Linked DNA regions of Homo sapiens: region 2 is linked to region 1. The links are contacts of gene promoters, found by promoter capture Hi-C in blood cells and fetal thymus (Javierre and others, 2016). All regions are on one chromosome and are shown on one strand. The core of a region is centred on a gene start or on the middle of the fragment in contact, and the rest is flanking DNA. Distances in the headings are between cores, read along the strand shown.

The links. The method cuts DNA at HindIII sites, captures the fragments that hold promoters and counts their contacts. A CHiCAGO score of 5 or more calls a contact.
Region 2: the fragment with the promoter of ZNF749 here is called in contact with the fragment with the promoter of ZNF382 in region 1 in 4 of 17 cell types (non-activated CD4 T cells, activated CD4 T cells, total CD4 T cells and 1 more); the score reaches 20.8 in non-activated CD4 T cells.

Annotation. Positions count from the first base shown.
Region 1 is chr19:36,601,779-36,607,834 of GRCh38, forward strand. It overlaps ZNF382 (zinc finger protein 382), which reads left to right and starts at 3,535. Exons shown (of 5, transcript NM_032825.5): 1 at 3,535-3,569; 2 at 5,774-5,844. It also overlaps a transcript of ZNF529 not described here. RefSeq lists enhancers at 2,807-2,946, 3,927-3,986 and a silencer at 3,507-3,566. The HindIII fragment of the contact is 5,073 bases long and covers 1,906-6,056 here.
Region 2 is chr19:57,431,069-57,437,124 of GRCh38, forward strand. It overlaps ZNF749 (zinc finger protein 749), which reads left to right and starts at 4,257. Exons shown (of 3, transcript NM_001023561.4): 1 at 4,257-4,525. The coding sequence starts at 4,511. RefSeq lists enhancers at 3,842-4,141, 4,772-4,821. The HindIII fragment of the contact is 4,352 bases long and covers 1,979-6,056 here.

The DNA of each region.
Region 1 (6,056 bases), core at 2,285-4,784:
AAACCTTAGATTTTAATTCAGATACTATAGAATAGGGGTTGGCAAACTTTTCTGTAAAGGACTAGATAGTAAATATTTTAGGCTTTGTGAGCTAAAAGGCAAAATTAAGGATATTATATAGGAGTTTATATAAAAGAGAGATGAAAAATTTCCCCTTTGTTTTTCCTTTTTTTAGAGATAAGGTCTGGAACTCCTGGCTTCAAGCAGTCCTCCCTCCTCAGTCTCCCAAAGTGCTGGGATTACAGGCGTGAGCCACTGCACCTGAACGCTACAATTTTTTTTTTTTTTTAAGATGGATTCTCACTGTCTCCCAGGCTAGAGTGCAGTGGCGCGATCTCGGCTCACTGCAACCTCCGCCTCCCAGGTTCAAGCAATTCTCCTGCCTCAGGCTCCCGAGTAGCTGGGATTACAGGCATATGCCACCATGCCCAGCTAATTTTTGTATTTTTAGTAGAGATGGTGTTTTGCCATGTTGGTCAGGCTGGTGTCGAACTCCCGACCTTGTGATCCACCCACCTTGACCTCCCAAAGTGCTGGGATTACAGGTGTGAGCCACCGCGCCTGGCCACCTCCACAAATTTTTAATTGCCAAAATCCAAAACTTTATTTATGGACACAAATTTAAATTGCATATAATTTTCACATGTCATGAAATATTACTCTCCTTTTTTTTTTTTTCGTGGTCAACTATTAACAAAAAGTTAAAACCAATCAGTTCACAAGCCATACAAAAATACAGGCTACAGGCTGGATTTGGCCCACAGGGCCATAGTTTGCAAACCCCTGTTCTAGACCCAGAGACCATTATACCATACTCACACAGTCTACACAGTTATGTGACTTGGGGGAAAAAAAGAAAAAAACACCTGGCCGGGCACGGTGGCTCACGCCTGTAATCCCAGCACTTTGTGAGACTGAGGCAGGTGGATCACCTGAGGTGGGGGGAGTTCAGGACCAGCCTGATCAACATGGAGAAACCCCGTCTCTACTAAAAATACAAAACTAGCCAGGCATGGTGGCGCATGCCTGTAATCCCAGCTACTCGGGAGGCTGAGGGAGGAGAATCGCTTGAACCCAGAAGGCGGAGGTTTCAGTGAGCCAAGATCGCACCATTGCACTCCAGCCTGGGCAACAAAAGTGAAACTCCGTCTCAAAAGAAAAAAAAAAAAAAACACGTGATGCGGCCAAACCTCATGCAAGAACTAGCTGGTACCATATAAATCTCCTAAGGTATCCCCTCGGAAAAACTTCCTGCCCTTCTTAACAGCTCTCTCTGCACATACTCTGCAATAATATTCTAACTCCTAAGGTCCTCTAAAACAAAAAAAGTTACTATAACCATTCAAACGATCTCCTATCTTGCTGTTTTTCCACTCATGTCTCTGAAGAAAATCTAAACTATCTAATGTGTAATTCTACCTAAGCAATTGGTCTCCTCCGTAACAAATCACCGTGTGAAGGCAGACTATTTCTATGTCATGAGAATGCTTAAACAAAAAGAGCACACAGGAGAAGTGAACATACTGTCAAGGTGTTATATGAAAATTAACTCTAGGAAGGGCATCTGATGAGGTACTGGAAAGAAGGAGATCTGTCTTCATAATGTCATCAGTAACTGGGAAGAGAAGGACTAGAGACCAGGTAAATAGATAAGTCACTATTTGGTGAGCATTTCAAATGAAGTTATTCCACATCCTGAAAAACAAAAATGCATTTCATAAAACAAAGAAAAAAATCAAAATGACCTCCAGCTTTGCTTTAAAATGTGCAACTACAATGCTTTTCTTCTCTCAGAGCTCTTCTCTTGGAATACAGCAAAATGTGGAAAGAAAGGGAATCACAATATACTCAGCCTTTCTTGGAGCCCAGACAGGCTAAATAAGAACACATTCTTCACCACCGGCAAGCTTCCATAACCCATGCTGAATATGACCAGATGGAAGTATGAGAAAGACTGGAATATTGTTGACTCTTCCCTTCATAAAGAAAAGTCAGGTTCACCAAAGCCTGGGACTGAAATGTTTCTGTATTCACAATAATTTCCTTTAGACAGCTATGAAAATGCTGTGGATCTGCAATATTCAACTTGCCCCCACAGAGCTTCCAAAAGGGATCTTTTGGCTAGGCACGGTGGCTCACGCCTGTAATCCCAGCACTTTGGGAAGCCGAGGCGGGTGGATCACCTGAGGTCAGGAGTTCGAGACCAGTCTGACCAACATGGTGAAACCCCGTCTCTACTAAAAATACAAAAATGAGCCGGGCATGGTGGTGCATGCCTGTAATCCCAGCTACTCGGGAGGCTGAGGCAGGAGAATTGCTTGAACCCGGAAGGCGGAGGTTGCAATGAGCCGAGATTGCGCCACTGCACTCCAGCCTGGGCAACAAGAGCAAAACTCCATCTCACACACACACACAAAATCTTTGGAGAAACGAATCCTACTCCTGGGGCCTCAATATCATATCTTCCCAGAACCTTGCCTTGGGAGCAATTCCAGCTCTAACATCTCCATATCAAACACGAGGCTGTGCATATCAGAACACAGCCTTGTCCATGTGAAACACAAGGCTGTGCTTTTTCAGTTGGAAACTTCATTCTGGATCTCAAATATCCAACTTTCTTTTCGATAGCCATTTGACTGCACACTGTGCAACGTGGTTATAAGGTGAAATGACTGAGGCAGTGAAAGAAATCCCAGTATAACAAACTCCAAGAAACCACGTAACTTAAAATTGGCCCCAGAGGTTGGCGAGGCTGCATGCCACTGTGTATTATGCATTATGAAAGCGACAGGGGCCATGCTTTAGAACAGAAGGTCTCAGAGTCTTCACAGACACAGATCGAGCCATACGGGGACCTTGTCCACGTATTCCTGAGCCCCAGAACTGCAGAAATCAAACTCTACAAAAGCTGCACCAGGCCAGTTTTGATCACAGTCTCCAGTGGGTCACAACAGCGCTGTCACAGGATCACTGATAACAGCATGACACATTCATAGTCACCGCTCAGCGCCGTCACACAAACGGCCCCGCCCCCACTCAGTCCCGCGGGCCCAATCGGGGACAGTCAGGGCTGTCCCGGGCTGTGCACCTGCTGTGCACACACACCCCCTGCTGTGCACACCCCCCGCCCCCCCGGGACCATCACAGGCGCGCCCACTCACACCACCACACACGGACGCAGCCACAGAACGGCACACACAAACACAATCACACAGTCTCCCTCCCCAGCAGGTGACTTGCACACAGGCCTGGGGCTTCTGCCTCCACAAACCCTCTCCGCGTCCCATGAACCCAGGTCCCCTGCCGTGAGCTCTTCTCGCATCCAGACCCGGGTCACCTCAACTCACCACATGGAAAACGAACACCAGGTCAACGGAAAAGGGAGCCGGGGTCCTGGCAGAAGCGTAGTGCCAGCCGCAATAGGGCGGCCGTGGGTGCAAACGGAGGGGAGCGCCGGCAGCTAGCACCGCGCGGCGACTAACGGGCCGCCCCGGAGACTCCTGGGAGCTCAGGCCCACGCGCGAGTGCGCAGGCGCAGACGACTCACCCTGGGCCGGGGGTGAGGCTTGGTGGGTGCCAGGGGTGCTGAGGAGGCCAAGGAGGGCACTGGGAGCTCCGTTCCGGGAGAGCTGTCTAAGGACGCGGAACCGGGTGGGGAGGCCAGGGAGGTAACCAAGAGTCCGAGCCGGGCCTGGAAATTCTGAGGAGGAAACCGGGACCGCGGTATCCAGACGCTCCGATCTGTACGAGCCGGGCCTCGGGCGTGGTCCATGGGCGTGACCTTGAGGGTGACCCGGAGCGAGCTCCGCGAAGGGGGATTTTGCCCGTTCTGATCCCGCGGAAGCGCCATCGCTGGCGGCGGGTCCCCGCGCGGAGCGGGCGCTGTGTGTTCGCGCGCGCGGGCGCGCGCTGAATAGGGGTGGCCTCCTGCGCCCAACCTGCTGCATTTTAGGTGCTTGCCTCTCTTTGGGATGTTGTGGCCGATTGTGTGTGAAAAGTGAACGGAGTAGTGTTGCTGCGCGAGGTTTCCTCTGCGTGTGTCTATTTTTAGATTAGGTGTGAGTCGCATTTGAGACTGCCTTTGAGTGTGGAGAATTGCAAGTGATTTGTAGGTGTGGTTGTGACTGCCTGGAGTCGTGTTAGCTGCTGTCTGAGGTTGTGAATGACAAGTGGGGCCTGTAGGTTGGTGGTTCTCTGAAGGATGTTTGATTGACTGTGACTCTGCATGTGTTTGTAACCTACTGTTACTTCTGGTGGTTTTGTGGCCTTAGTGACCTAAATATTTGAATGATTGAGGAACTCTGTTATGACCATGGCTAGTTGGTTATGTAAGACTTGATTATCTGAATAGTAGCCATTAAGCCTGCCTCCAAAACTGTAACTAAGTAGCAATTTAGCAAATAAAATAGAGATAACAGTATCAGAGGGGAAGAGATGATTTTCATAATTCCCAGATTCATTTCCTGGAAACACCATATTAACTAAAACCAGTATGTTGAAATGAATAGCATTCCATTGGGGACATGCAGGAAATTTTTTTTTTTTTTTTTTTTTTACCATAACTACCACTTTTGTTGTTGTTTTTTGTTTGTTTTAAGACAAGGTCTTGCTCTTTTGCCCAGGCTGGAGTGTAGTGGCATGATCTCTGCTCACTGCCACCTCTACCTCTGAAGTTCAAGTGATTCTCCTGCCCCAGCTTCCTGAGTAGCTGGGACTACAGGCTTGTGCCACCACGCTCGGCTAGTTTTTGTATTTTTAGTAGAGATGGGGTTTCACCATGTTGCCCAGGCTGGTCTTGAACTCCTGACCTCAAGTGATCCCCTCCCCCCGCCCCCTCGGCCTGCCAAAGTACTGGGATTACAGGTGTGAGCCACTGTGCCTGGCATAACTACCACTTTCAACACTTGTATATGAGTGAGGTTTCCTACTCCCTTAGGCTTGCTAAGATAATAAAAAGTATTTGATAGATTTTTAATAAGTCCAGTCTCACTGTAGTAATTAAAATAGTTATTTTGCGGGCCTGGTGCAGTGACTGATGCCTGTAATCCCAGCATTTTGGGAGGCCAAGGTGGGCAGATCACCTGAGATCGAGAATTCGAGACCAGCCTGACCAACATGGAGAAACCCCATCTCTACTAAAAATACAAAATTAGCCGGGCATGGTGGTGCATGCCTGTAATCCCAGCTACTCAGGAGGCTGAGGCAGGAGAATCGCTTGAACCCGGGAGGTGGAGGTTGCGGTCAGTCAAGATTGTACCATTGCACTCCAGCCTGGGCAACAAGAGTGAAACTCTGTCTCAAAAAAAAAAAAAAAAAAGATTATTCTCAACTACAACATAGACCAGATAGGCAAAGATTTAAAAGTTGTCAACTGTCTTCATCAGGGCTTGGGAAGGTATTCTCATCCACTACTATCAGTGTAAATTGGCAAAAAGTCCAAGAAGAACCGTTTGGAAATACACAGTAAACCTGTGGTTAGAGGTAGATGGAAGGCAGAGCTGCAGAGGGAAAAACACAGTGTTCCCTCTCTTCAAGCTAAAACAGGTTCCCCAGAATCCTGTATACTTTACCAAGAGACTGGGTTTCTGGTGTTTGTGAGGGAGCCTGATTTGTCTGTTTTCCCACTAACTACCATCCTGGACATCTGAAGGGTACACAGGGTGGACAAGTGCTGAAATAGTGAACATTCATGCAGATTTAACTGAGTTAATTCTGGGAGTTCTGAGTCAAGTATGGTCTCACATACGTATATCCTCCATCTTTGCTTTCTCAGGACTGTTTCTTTTTCCAAAAGAGGAGCTCAAAAGAGAAAGTTCATCTAGAAATCTCAAAGCCATGTCTCAGGTGAGATGATGTTTCCTCTCTTTCTGAAATAACTTTTTTTCATGGTGTATGAACATGAGCTTCACTGTCCTTTAACCTTCCCTGATATTGGGATTTGCTTCCATGAAATTAGTCTTCAGTCAGGGCCAGATTAGGCTGAGGCAGGCAAGTGGCATGAGGTGAAATATTTAAGGGGTACCCTCAGGGCTGTGCCCTCCTAAATTTTGCATTCT
Region 2 (6,056 bases), core at 3,007-5,506, about 21 Mb after region 1:
GAAGGGTAAAGGGGAAGTAGAAGAGTTAGATATAAGGCAGCAACTAGAGGAATAGGAGGGGGAGGATATTGCTTAAGTTTGCCAAATTGTTCAATGGCTTTATTCAAGGAAATTTTTACTGAAACAATTTTTTATTCAGAACCTTGGAGATTGTACAAATACGATTCATTCCAATAAAAAACTACTGCTTACTGGGCCTGAGAAATTTTGTTTTCTTTCTTTTCTAATGCATCTCTTAAATTAACAGTTTTTGTTTTCTTTTCAACTGAAATGTTCCTCCTAGTAGCCACTGAAGGCAAAAATTATCCGGGTGAAGTTATGCCACTTAGAAACCTAAACACTAGAATTGTGATTGTAATCAGAGTACATATAACATGCAGGAGACTTTCCTGGAAAGGAGACGATTTCAATTTAGACGATCCAATAAGTGCTGGCACTGTCTGAGAGGAGTGTAATGATTATGTACCTTAGGCCTGGTTCTACAGCATGATAGGTGGCTACTTCCCCACAAGAACACGACAATCTTCACACCTCAGCATGCAGAAAATCTGAGAATACTCTTTCTGAATGAATGCCTAATTCTCTGGACAAAAAAGAAAAAAAAAAAAGAAAAAGAAGATAAGAGAATCTTATCCCATTTTATCAGTGACCCAAAGCAAAGTCTGTCCAAATGGTCACCAGTCTGTTGAGAATCAGAAAACCCTTGGTCTGTGATATTAGCTGAAACAAGTCACTAGAGCCTATGCTTGAGTTTTTTTTGTTTTTGTTTTTTTAACGGAGTTTCACTCTTGTTGCCCAGGCTGAAGTGCAATGGCGTGATCTTGGCTCACTGCAACCTCTGCCTCCTGGATTCAAGCAATTCTCCTGCCTCAGCATCCCGAGTAGCTGGGATTATAGGCGCATGCCTGGCCAATTTTGTATTTTTTAGTAAAGATGGAGTTTTTAGTAAAGATGGGGTTTCTCCATGCTGGTCAGGCTGATCTCGAACTCCGGACCTCAGGTGATCTGCCTGCCTCGGCCTCCCAAAAGGCTGGGATTACAGGCATGAGCCACCGCGCCCAGCCTATGCTTGAGTTTTACCCTATTATTATCCTCTTCATGACAATGCTTTAAGAAAGTACATCACTAAACTGTTACATATAAGATAGCAAAAAGAGATGAAAAGAAATGGTGTGATACTATCAAGGATGGCAATGTCACGGGAGCCAATTAAAAAAAAAAAGGAGGCGGGGCGCGGTGGCTCACACCTATAATCCTAGCACTTTGGGCGTCTGAGGCAGGCAGATCACCTGAGGTCAGGAGTTCGAAACCAGCCTGGCCAATGTCTCTACTAAAAATACAAAATTAGCCAGGTGTGGTGGCACGAGCCTGTAGTCCCAGCTACTCGGGAGGCTGAGGCAGGAGAATTGCTTGAACCTGGGAGGTGGAGGTTGCAGTGAGCTGAGATCCTGCCATTGCACTGCAGCCTGGGCAACAGAGTGAGACTCTGTCTTAAAAAAAAAAAAAAAAAAAAAAAGGTGGGGGGGACTAAACAGAGTCTAAATAGCCAAGAAACCCAGTGCAAAGACAGTAGTGTTCAAACTTGTTGCTAACTTAACATGTCATCATGGATTTGACAAGGTGTGAAGAGCAAAGCATAAAGGACCTCTGTGGTTACTATACCTGTTTGATGACTATGGCCCATGGTGATGAACAGGTTAGACGTTATTTCACTGGGACCTCTGTAAGTATGATACATTGTAACATAATTTCTACAATGGTCACATCTAATTATATCAATCCTTTGTTCACTGCACCTTCATTAGTAAGAAGTATGCTTAATGGTAGCATTCATGGACTGCAAACAGACAACTTGGAAATAAATGAAGACCCAAATGAGAACAAACATAGCCTATTAAATCAGACCACACCGTAGTAAAGGAGTCATCCACAATCTCTTGCACTCAGCAGAGCTTGAAAGGCAAGCAGAGGTGTAAAAAGCTTCATAGTAGATAAAAGGTAAAGTATTAGGTATGCCATGACTGGAGGCTATAGTCTTGAGGAGTGTGTGTGTGTGTGTGTGTGTGTGTGTGTGTGTGTGTGTGTGAAGGGGTTATTTAGAAGGTTGACATCCTATGTGATTGGCTAGTGATGCACTGACTTTCTCCAGTTGGTCCTAAGTTGAACATATGGGCAACAATTAGAAAGCTGTCAGTTCTTAGTCATGTCTTAGCCATTTTAAGCGAGTTGTTATGTGGGATGTTGTCTGGCTTCCTGGCCTTGTTGCTAGACATAGTATTCTGACTTGGGAGTGGTTACTGTAGATACCACATTAGATTTCTGAATGGGTTGGTGTAGATTATGGGTCAGAGTCAATTTTTATATTTGGTGTAGCCGTTGTCCATTTGTATAGCAAATTTCTCACACCTAAATAAGGAACTATCCACGTTAGTGGGATTTCTTATTTTTAACTGGTTATGTTGAAAATTAGTTTAATATTCATTAATTTCCCACAACCCTTTCAAAGGTTTGTTTTTGCCAGACCTTCAGTTGGGCAGAGTTAATTTTTCCTTTTTTTTTTTTTTTTAAACTGGTTGGCAAACTAAATTGTAACGCTTTGGCCAAAAAATAGCCCTTTCCTTTTCTGAATATAAAGAGAATGGGTTTTAATTTTTGGTCTTTTCTTTGTTCTTCCTTCACTAATCCTGCAGAAGAGACCATAAGGCATTATCCAAATCTTCATTTGTTGGGGGCATGGTTTTCAGGTAGTATTGCCACCACCTGATGGCAATACTATTGCTACTCAATTTTTCTCTCACTGCTACTCAATTGCAGTGAGAGAAAAATAGCTCTAAATGCCGACTTTTTGTAGTGCATTGTAAAAAGCTGAATAAAGCCAGGGACGGTGTCCTGTACCTACAGTCCCAGCTGCTCTAGAGGCTGAGGTGGGAAGATAGCTTTAGCTCAGGAGCTGAGGCCTTATCATAAGGCCTTATAAGACTACCTGGAGGCTTCATCTGCATGATATAACCTTGGTCTTCACAACCCCTTGTCTTTTTTTGTTTTTGAGACGGAGTTTCGCTCTTGTTGCACGGGCTGGAGTACAATGGCGAGATCTCGGCTCACCGTAACCTCCGCCTCCCGGGTTCAAGCGATTCTCCTGCCTCAGCCTCCCGAGTAGCTGGCATTACAGGCATGTGCCACCATGCCCGTCTAATTTTGTATTTTTAGTAGAGATGGGGTTTCTACATGTTGGTCAGGCTGGTCTCGAACTCCCAACCTCAGGTGATCCGCCCACCTCGGCCTCCCAAAGTGCTGGGATTACAGGCGTGAGATACCACGCCCGGCCCACAACCCCTTAACCCAGACAACCATTTCTACTGATTCCAGGTCTTTAGATACAAACTCTTTCAACCAATTGCCAATCGGAAAATCTTTGAACCCACCTGACCTGGAAGCCCCGCCCCTCCCTTCCAGTTGCGCCTTTCCAGAGGAATCCAATGTACATTTTACATGTATTGATTGATGTCTTACGTCTTCCTAAATTGTTAAAACCAAGCTGTAGATGGGCCACCCTGGGCATATGTTCTTAGGATATCTTGGAGCCGTGTCATGGGCCATTAGTCACTCATATTTGTCTCAGAATAAATCTCTTCAACTATTTCACAAAGTTCCACCCTTTTCGTCGACAGAAAGATATTCCTCCTTCAACTCTCCATCACATCCTGTGTGGGTCTTTTCTTTCTTGTCCCAACAGAAGCACACTAACGATCAAAAAAAAGTCTCCAGAGCCTCAGTATGTGTGTACTTGACAAGCACAAAAGAGCTGACCGCTATGAATGGAGGACCAGTTCATTATGGTCAGCCATGTCGCTTCTGATGTTCTTCCTTTCGGGACTTGCTGTGCTTCAGAGAATCTGAAACGACAGGTCTCTGAAATATTTCTCAGACTTGTCCTAGACTGCTCTCCGGGAAAATCTGGTTACTTGCAGTTTAGGAGTCAGCAAAGCCCCTCCACGTCCTTAAGAGCCCCGGAACTGCATTTCTTAACGCTCCTCCAGGAGCCTCCAGCTTTTTTCCGTAAGGTCCGCGCGCCCAGCATTGTGAGGCGAGGCAGGCAGCAGCGTGGGAACTACATTACCCAGAAGACACTGCGGGCGACACAGGCAGCAACGTGAGAACTACATTACCCAGAAGACACTGCGGGGGCAGGGCAGCGAGTGTAGCCATTGGTCTAGCAGAGAGACGACTAATGAGGTCTCAATTGTGTGGGCGGGACTTCTGGCGGCGCCCTCATGGTTGCGTTAGCATGGCTACCTAGGGATCTGTTCACTGATTTAGAGGGTCCCAGAGCTCTGGGTCGGGACTGAGGTGAAAGAGCGGAAAAACGCGAGAAGCGGTGTTCCTTCTACACAGAGGCTAGAGTGCGGATCGGCTGAGTCGGCTGCAGGCGCCCCTGCCTCCGTCAGCGTCCAGGTGACCGCCGTTCCCGCCCCGCTCTTCCCTGGGTGGACTGGAGGAGGCCGCGCCGATGAACCTGACCGAGGTGCGTGCAGCGTCCCAGGCCGCCCCGCCCAACCCCTCCTCCCAGTGCTGAAGTCCCAAGGAGCCGCCCTGCAGGTTAGGCCCTTGTGTCTCTAAGAGAGGGGCGTTCTTGTGTGGGGTGCCCGGGACTGGGACTGCGGTGCGATGAGGCGGGGGAGCTCCCGTCGGAGACCGACACGTCTCTGGGGCTTGGAGGCACTGCAGAACGGGCGGCACTGGGGAGCCCGAGCGTCTTTGTCTCCAAGGAGCAGAGGTTGAGGCGGAGTCTCCCCTGGAAGGGCAGTGGAGCCGCAGAGAGCCATAGAGGGCTGTGCAGGGAGGACGAATGGGAGGGTCACGCCCAGAGTTAGAAGTTTAAAGTTGGGGAAAACAGGATGTTGAACGGGGGCAGGGGGACCGCTGAGGAGACCCCTTGAGTTATGGTAGGGCTGGGCCAGAGGGGTTGCAGTAGAGGGGAGATGTGATGAGACTCTGGATGGATCTCAGAGATAGGGTCAACAGGATTTCCTGCTGCATCAAACATAGCTGTGAGGGAAAGTCGGTAGTGAATGGTGTCTTCCATAGGTTTTGTTTTGGCCTGAAAAATCTGAAAGAATGGAATTAGAGATATCAGCTTAAGGAGCGGGTTTCAGACAGAAGATCCTGGGTTGGATTTTGGGCGACATCACATGGGTAGGTGGACGTAATTTCCAAAGGTGAGGGAAGGTAGCTGGCCTGGAGCTTTAAATGAGTTAGAAGTTGTGCACTTGAGAAGTTGGCCTGTGGATCAGATTGAGAAGGAAGAATCCTACATCGTTTTTTCATATGGGCTGAGGTAGGGGAGGGCTCAGATTTGGAGGAAAGACCATGGTAGGGAGGGCATCTCTGATACTCCCTGCAGAAGGGAGCAGATATGGGCTAAGAGTCTGGTCTGTTTCTGTTGAAAAAGAGGCCTGGATGGATAAGGAGTTGCCCTGGAATACAGAGACTGAGGCATGAGATAATTGTAGTCACTCCACCCTTCTAACTCAGCTGGCCCTGAGGGCCACTCTTTAGGGAACAAGATAAGGCCATGCAGCAACTGGGTCCAAAACTGGGCAGGGCTTTCTCACATCCTCCACCACAGTTAAGGGCCTCCAGCAAGCTCCCTTTACTGCATTATATGGCAGGCTGACCTGTTTGCTGAACGGACCAGTAACTGATTGACTGCTCAGCCCCATCCTACAACTCATTAACTTAGGGATGTAAAAACAGGTAATTGACTTAAACAGTAAGGAACTATATCAATCTTAAATAACCAAGCAAGTCAGAATCTAGTTTAAAGAGAGTTTATTCAAGTTCACATGTTGATGATAGCCATCTGGGACCATAGATTCAAGTTGTCCTGAATATACACTTCAATTACCACAGTGACAAGTGTTTGCTTTTTTTTTAAGGAAAAAAGAAGCAGTTTCTGAGTTGTTTACCAATAACTTATGTTAAAATAAGATAAGTTTTTATTGGCTATACATTCTTATTTATATTATAGATTACAGAAACATGAAGATAATAGG